Linked DNA regions of Homo sapiens: region 2 is linked to region 1. Evidence: promoter capture Hi-C in 16 types of primary human blood cells and fetal thymus (Javierre and others, 2016). All regions are on one chromosome and are shown on one strand. The core of a region is centred on a gene start or on the middle of the fragment in contact, and the rest is flanking DNA. Distances in the headings are between cores, read along the strand shown. Region 1 holds the start of PGRMC2 (progesterone receptor membrane component 2). Region 2 holds the start of PLK4 (polo like kinase 4).

Region 1 (3,893 bases), core at 892-3,391:
GTGTGGTACTGACATTTAGCTGGAAGGAACCAGAGATGGTAAATGTCCAGCAATGCTCAACACAGTCCTGAATAAGAATTAAAAAAGCCAGATAAACACTAGGCAATCATGGATGTCCCATGCTCCTTGTCTGTTACTGCTTTAGGGACAGCTAATAGCCCAGTTCTGGTCAATAAGATATAAGGAGTGGCCTGCTTCTGGGGTGCTTTCTTCCTTCCTATCAATGTTGTCTCAACTGTATACAGCTCTTGGGACTGCTACAGCTATCTTCTCCTCAAAACCAGTTTCTTCTTTATCTTCCTATTTCCATCACTGGCACCTCCCATTTTCTGTTACCAAGTCCTAAAGCAATTTTGACTTCTCCTAACCCTTAACCTTAAGGTGACTATTCCTTTAGGTTTGCCTGGGATAAAACTGATATAACTCCTGGTCTCTGGCTATAATTATTAATGCCCTACTTTACTTCCAAAAGTGTTCCATATTGAAGGATAGAGTATATGGTCATTTACTACCAATTGTGTCGCTCTCCCTCAGGTACCTCTAATGCAGGGCTCAGCAATATGGCTTATAAGTTGTTTTTGCACCTCTCCAGAACTAAAAAAAAAAAAATTTACATATTTCAATGATTTTCTTAAAAATCAAAAGAATATTTCATACCTGAAATTATATTAAAAATTCAATGTCCATAGTTTTACTGAAGACAGCTACACTCATTCAAGTATTGTCTATGGCTGCTTTCTCGTTACAAGGTAGAGCTGAGTAGTTAAGGCAGAGACTTAAAATATGATCGGGCCCTTTACAAAAAATGTTTGCCAACCCCTGCTCTAATGTCTCCCCTAGCTCTGAGTCTCCTCACCTCACGCACAAATACCCTAGCCTACTAACTGCTTTCCCACTCTTTCCCCAGCCTCTAATCCTTCAGACACCTGGTTGCTATACAGCCTCTCTACAAGAGTGTCGACCCTGTCACTTGCCTCGTCAATATCCTCAGTGACTCCTACAAAACCGACAGTGAAAGGTTCAAACCTATTCTATGAGACTCAAGACAACAGACAACAAAGGGCAAGAGAGAACACGTCAAACGAGTTCGTCAAACGAGTTGAGTGCGTGAGACTTCAGAGGTCACTTTTTCACACTAGAATTTCAAGGTGTGAGAGGCTAAAAGACGTCCAAGTACATGAAACAGAACCTGCAAATAAGAGTGAATGACGAATAGAAAGACCACCTCAACCTGTCCACTTCCCTACGGCCGCAGAAGTTATGATTCAAGGAATAATGAGACTCTAAATCCTTTAAAATTCTACAAGAGCAGCCTTTGCCAAACCCAGCGGGGAGTGGCTGCTCGGTGCCAGCGCGAGGAGCACGTAGACTGCCGATGCCAGAGAAGCCCGGTGCGGGTTCCGTGCTTTCTCTCCGTTCCAGGAAGACCCCAGCTCGTGGCCAAATCTTCTTGCCGCTTCCCGGTCTGCGCGCCTACGCTGCCGGTTTCCCGACAAAAGCGACGGCGCCCTGGTGAAAAGCAGACGCCCCTCATCGGTTTGCGCCTTGCAGCTCAACTATGCCCCAGCCTCCCACAAGCCACCTGCCCGCGTCCTCCGCCAGGCGTCCAGCCCGGACCTGCCCCCGCGGCCGCCAAGGCGCACGTGAAGCTCCCGGGCGGGGGGAGCGCAAGGAGGCGGGAGTTTGCGGACGCGAACGCAGGCCTAGGAAGGGAAGCGATTCCAGGGCGCACGCGCAGAGCCTGGAGACTGGGCGGGGCGTGCCTCCCGCAGGGGTTACGAACGAAAGGCGAGCGCGTGGCGCTCAGGAGCCCGCGCACGCGCTGTGGTCTCGCCCCGCCCATGAGCGTCCGCGCGGCCGTCGTAGCATCTTTTCTTCAGACCCGCCCGGCTCGTCTACTTAACCTAGCGGAGGCTTGGAGTGAGAGCAGGGAAGTGTGGGGCGAGGTGGGCGGGGCGTTGCACGCGTGCGCGGCCAGCGAAAGAAGGGAGGGGGCGGGAGATCCGAGACAACGTTACCCCGTCAACACCCAATCAGGAGCCGGCCTGACCCCGCCCCCTCTTCTCACGTTATTGGCTGAGAGGCCCCCAGATGGGCGGGGCCGGCCGTGGGGTTGGGGAGGGCAGGGGGCGGGGAGGAGGAGGAAGGCGCTGGCGGGCAGTGATGGCGGCTGGTGATGGGGACGTGAAGCTAGGCACCCTGGGGAGTGGCAGCGAGAGCAGCAACGACGGCGGCAGCGAGAGTCCAGGCGACGCGGGAGCGGCAGCGGAAGGGGGAGGCTGGGCGGCGGCGGCGTTGGCGCTTCTGACGGGGGGCGGGGAAATGCTGCTGAACGTGGCGCTGGTGGCTCTGGTGCTGCTGGGGGCCTACCGGCTGTGGGTGCGCTGGGGGCGGCGGGGTCTGGGGGCCGGGGCCGGGGCGGGCGAGGAGAGCCCCGCCACCTCTCTGCCTCGCATGAAGAAGCGGGACTTCAGCTTGGAGCAGCTGCGCCAGTACGACGGCTCCCGCAACCCGCGCATCCTGCTCGCGGTCAATGGGAAAGTCTTCGACGTGACCAAAGGCAGCAAGTTCTACGGCCCGGGTGAGGAGTTGGAAGGGGAGGGGAAGGACCCCCTGCAGCTGAAGCACAACCCCCTTCGGACAGGGAGGCCTCTGGGCACCGGGTTAGTTTGCCCAGCCTTCTCGTCTCCGGGACCCCCGCGCCTCGGCCGCCGCACCTGGGACGGCCCATCCCGCCCCTACACACACACCGTCCCCCCGCAGCTACGGGCACCTCCAGTTCTTCCCCCGAAACCAGGGTCCCCGGTGGCGCCCCAGAGACCAGCTCTCAGCATTCATCTTTCTTCCATCCCATTTCTCCTCGCAGCCTTTTTTTTTTGTTTCTTTGGCTGGATTTTTCAAAATCGTTTTAGTTGTCACAGGTCAACGCTGGCCCTTAACCTTTTTTGAGTCTCCTGATTCCTGGGATGGATGGGGCACCAGGGAAGGGAGATTTCTGAAGTTGGGACCTAAACTAAAGTTTTGGGCTCTGTAATTCACCGTTTTCTTTTCCTTGCCCCCTTTTTTTTTTTTTTTGCCACTGATCTCCTTTTTTCCCTCGCTGTATTACTCCGTAAGGCCACGTTTAGGGGCATGTAAAGTCCCAACCCTCCAGTCTCTGAAGTCCAGACGTATAAGCAACACCTCGGACTCTCTTTAAACCAGTTTTAGTTCGGAGTTGCTTTCCATGATTAACAAGGTATGTGGGATGAGAACAGACCAGAATGCAGAGCTTATTAAAGACTGGTAAGGATATTCACCTTGAGTTTTGGGGGTGGAGCTCCTATACCCAGCAGGCGTGTCTCTGGTTTCTTTTTTCTTTTTTTTTCTCTTTTCAAGTACACGTTGATAATGACTTGTGTTTTCACTTAGCAGAACTAAGGAGAAAAAACTTAGAAGAGTTGTAGATTTATACCCCCATGTGCCAGTTATGCAAGTTAAAGATTTTTAGAACTTTGTTTTGAGAGAACTTTGTTTTCAGGGAACTTTGTGTAGGGTAGTTGATTTAGACGCCCTTTTTTTACAGTGTGGTTGTAGCATACATTTTGGATTATGTTAATAAACCCCAGACTCATGGAACCTGTTGGTATATCATACAGTTGAGCAACATTGTGCATCCTGGTTGTGCACTGATTAATACTAAGCTTTAAAAAAAAGTGGTGACTACAATAAGAATAAATAATTAAATTAGAGACCTAAAGTGACCTGTTATTGGAGAGAGTACCTCCAAGCCTTAAAGTCATAGGGTTGGCAGTCTGGAAGTAAGCTGGTTTTCTCCTTAATTTAATCTGTAGGTGTATAAGATTTATTGACACTTAAAAATATATACTTCTGATTTCAGTGCTTGATAGCTG
Region 2 (3,893 bases), core at 854-3,353, 410 kb after region 1:
TCCCAATTCAGGCAAATTTTAGAGCAAAACCTCCAGTTCTTTTTCTAAGTGGTTTAGATAAATGATTTTTTTTTTTTAAAGGCAGGGTCTCACTGTCACCTAGGCTGGAGTGCAGTGGCATGATCACAGTTCACTGCAGCCTCAACCTCCCAGGCACAATCTATCCTCCCACCTCAGCCTCCTGAGTAGCTGGGACCACAGGCACATGCCACCACGCTTGGCTAATTTTTTTTTTTGAGATGGGAATTTAGCTCTTGTTGCCTGGGCTGGAGTGCAATGGCGCGATCTCAGCTCACCACAACCTCTGCCTCCCGGGTTCAAGCGATTCTCCTGCTCAGCCTTCAGAGTAGCTGGGATTACAGGTGTGCAGCACCACACCCGGCTAATTTGGTATTTTTAGTAGAGATGGGGTTTCTCCATGTTGGTCAGGCTGGTCTTGAACTACCGACCTCAGGTGATCCACCCGCCTCGGCCTCCCAAAGTGCTGGGATTACAGGCGTGAGCCACCGTGCCCAGCAGCAGCTAATTTTTGTATTTTTGGTAGAGAGGAGGTTTCACCATGTTGCACAGTTGTTTTCAAACTCCTGAGCTCAGGTGATCCACCTGCCTCAGCCTCCCAAAGCGTTGAGATTACAGGTGTGAGCCACCCACCCGGCTGACAAATAATTCTTAATTTGCTTATGTTTATGTTACTCCTATTAGGCTGACTTCTAACAATCAAGAATAATATTTTGTATGTTACAGGGAAATACAAAATTATACACAGTGAACTATAAACAAATTATTTGTTAGTTGATTTCTACTCATTACTCCAAGTATGGATAATTACACCACATACGAGGTCTACTGAACATTAATGAAGATAAAACTTACTTAAGCAAGGTCAAGGCTTTCCTAAAATATTTTTAAGTTCAACGGCTGGACTTGGCACTATTGTCTTCTGCCTATGTAAAGTGTTCCTTACACTATAATCAAAGGAAAGGCTAGTAGACAAGGAGTTTCTGACATCTCTGATACCTCTCTAGTTACTTGCAAAGTACAGGAGAGAAGTTGATTAGTTTATTCTTACCATTTTGATTGCAACTTCCAAACCAGTGTGAATGGACTCAGCTCTGTAGACACCAGCAAATGATCCTTTACCAAGCAGATTTCCAACTTTAAAATCCTTAAAAGTTAAAATTAAAGATTATGTGTGATGACTCACAGTAGAAAGGAAGATGGGAAGGGGCTGGAAAAAGAAGATAAAATGGATCGAGTGGGGAATTTGACAAAATTCAAGCGGGTATTACACCTCGATGCAGCAGGTGTCTAGGGTGGAAGGCATGTTGACTCCGTGCGGGGATACCTGCGCTTCCAGGCTGGACTGGAAGCTCAGGGTGATGGTGCACCCTAGTGATCTGGTTCCTCAACCTCAGTGCAGCCTAAGCGCCCTCCTCCCATCTCCAGCCAATCCCCGGGAGCGGAGGGCTCGGTCAGAATCCCGCCGCAGCTCCCGCCGGAGATAACCGCCATCCCCTTGGAGAAGTGGGAGGTAGCCCTGCCCTGCTCTAACGCGGTAGCTCGGGCGGGATTGCTGAAAGAAAGCCGCAGTGCCTCGGGACACTGCCGGGCGGGGAGGGACTCACCTGTCCCGCCTTCCCTACTCTTGTCTCTTGAGGGGCGGGCCGCTCCGCCCCTAAACAGCAGGGGTCTGGGCCGTTGGGACCCTCCCTAAGCACCTCGGTGCCCGCCCCGCAGCCGTTAGCTTCGTTCGCTCCCCTTCCCACAGCGGTCTCGTGTCCTCCCACAATTACTCCCACCCGCCCCGCTGCAGACTGCCGAGTCTTTTCACCTCGATCTTCTCCCCGATGCAGGTCGCCATATTTCCAGGCTCTGGCCTGGGTTCTCCGGATTAGCTTCCTTCACGCAGTCCCTTCGAGGCAGCGCTCCAAGCAGCCAGCCGGCCTTGGCGCCCATCAGGCTCGGCTCTCTAAACCGCCGCTCCAGGCGACGACGCTGAAACCACGGAAAGTTCTCCCTGACACCTTCCGAGGCCTGGGCGGTGCCTCTGGGCTCCCATTTTGAAAATCTCCCGCCGCTTGCCGTCCGAGCTAGGCTGGTGGTGACGTAACGAGATGGATCGCTCCGGATAGGCTGCGCCGGGGCGCGCATGCGCGGCAGACCTTCCTTTGCGGCCGGCCCAGGGTTCTAGACTTCGGGGCCAAGGGCCGGAAGCGCTGCGGAGAGTTTAGTTCGGGCGGGAGGCTGTCTCGGGCCCACTCTCGGAAGAACTTCTGCAAGACGGGTAAAAGAGCAGGCCTTAAAGATGGGACACTTATGGCTGATCGGTTACTTCACGGTCCGAAATACCACTTCTAATTCCGGAAAGGGTTTAAAACTATTTTAAAATGTCAAGCGTTTAAGACTTGACGGAACAGGGCAAAAAACATTACCTTCCTTTAAGGAACACCGTTTACACCACTACCGCTTATTCCGTAGTTTGTTATAACTGTAGTTAATGTGTACGGTACCTTAAGAAAACGAACTCCATTCTTTATTTTGGCAAACTCCTAAGTATTTAATATTATAATGTCATTTGTATAATAATTTACAGTTAGATCTCTCATACACATAATTTGTATGGATCAAAAGAGACCTCTGTAAGTTTGGGATGGTGTTTTGCAGGTGAGAAAAGTGTGATGCTTAAGGAAGGATATTTAACAAACAGAAGTAGCGCACAAACTTAGATCTTCTGTTATTAAGTGAAAGCTCTTTTCCTTGATGTTAGTGTGTATTTCTTTTTCTTTTTCTTTTTTCTTTTGAGATGGAGTCTCGCTCTGTCGCCCAGGCTGGAGTGCAGTGACTCGATCTCGGCTCACTGCAGCCTCCATCTCCTGGGTTCCAGCGATTCTCCTTCCTCAGTCTCCCGGGTAGCTGGGATTTACAGGTACGCGCCACCACGACTGGCTAATTTTTGTATTTTTAGTAGAGACGGGGTTTCACCATGTTGGCCAGGCTGGTCTCGAACTCCTGACCTCAGGTGATCCGCCTGCGTCGGCTTCCCAAAGTGCTAGGAATACAGGCGTGAGCCTCCATGCCCGGCCCATTTTTTTTTTTAAACTTTTTAGTTTCAAATAATTTTAAGCTTACAGAAAAGTTGTAAAAATAATAGAGAACTCCTGTTGTCCTTTACTCAGATTAACCAATTCTTAACATTTTGCCACACTTGTTTTTACTATTCTTCATGTGTAATATACATGTATAAATATATAAATAAGCCTATTATTTGTATTTTATGAATCATTCTAAAATAGGTTACATACACTATGCTCTTATACCCCTTATTTCTAAAGTGTGAATTTCTTAAGAACCAGGGTATCCTCTTGTATGTTTATCAAATTAAGGATATTTAGCATTGATACAATATTTATATTTAATCTAATCTACAGTTCATATTCCGATTTGTCAATTGTTCCAGTAATGTCTTTATTTAACATTTTTTCCTTCCAGTATAGATCTAGTACAGGATCACATACCGTATTTAGTTACCATATCTTTTTAATTTCCTTTAATATGGAAGAGTTCCTCAGCATTTGTATTTTTGTGACATTGAGATTTTTGAAGAGTGCAGGCCAATTATTTATCATTCGTTCATTTGTTCATTCCAGTATTACTGAGGTATAGTTGACAAAAATTGTATTTATTCAAGTTGTACAGCATGATGATTTCATATACATTGTGAAATGATTACAACAATCAAATTAACACATTGTCACCACTCTTAGGAGTGTGTGTGTGTGTGTGTGTGTGTGTTAAGGGCCAGTTATTTTACAGAATCTTCCCTACTTTGGGTTTGTCTCGTGTTTCCTCATGATTAGATTCAGGTTATGTATTCCTGATTGTAATATTACATA

Evidence for each region. Contacts are between HindIII fragments. The CHiCAGO score rates a contact against its expected background, and 5 or more counts as called.
Region 2: a contact is called between the fragment with the promoter of PLK4 here and the fragment with the promoter of PGRMC2 in region 1, in 10 of 17 cell types (fetal thymus, non-activated CD4 T cells, naive B cells and 7 more). The highest score is 26.3, in fetal thymus.

What each region holds. Positions count from the first base shown.
Region 1 is chr4:128,286,061-128,289,953 of GRCh38, reverse strand. PGRMC2 (progesterone receptor membrane component 2) reads left to right here and starts at 2,141. Exons shown (of 3, transcript NM_006320.6): 1 at 2,141-2,581. The coding sequence starts at 2,164. RefSeq lists silencers at 846-1,140, 1,512-1,701, 2,022-2,201, 2,212-2,261, 2,442-2,501. The HindIII fragment of the contact is 4,970 bases long and covers 1-3,685 here.
Region 2 is chr4:127,879,103-127,882,995 of GRCh38, reverse strand. PLK4 (polo like kinase 4) reads right to left here and starts at 2,103. Exons shown (of 16, transcript NM_014264.5): 1 at 1,832-2,103; 2 at 1,070-1,165. The coding sequence starts at 1,861. RefSeq lists an enhancer at 1,780-2,019. The HindIII fragment of the contact is 5,077 bases long and covers 1-3,126 here.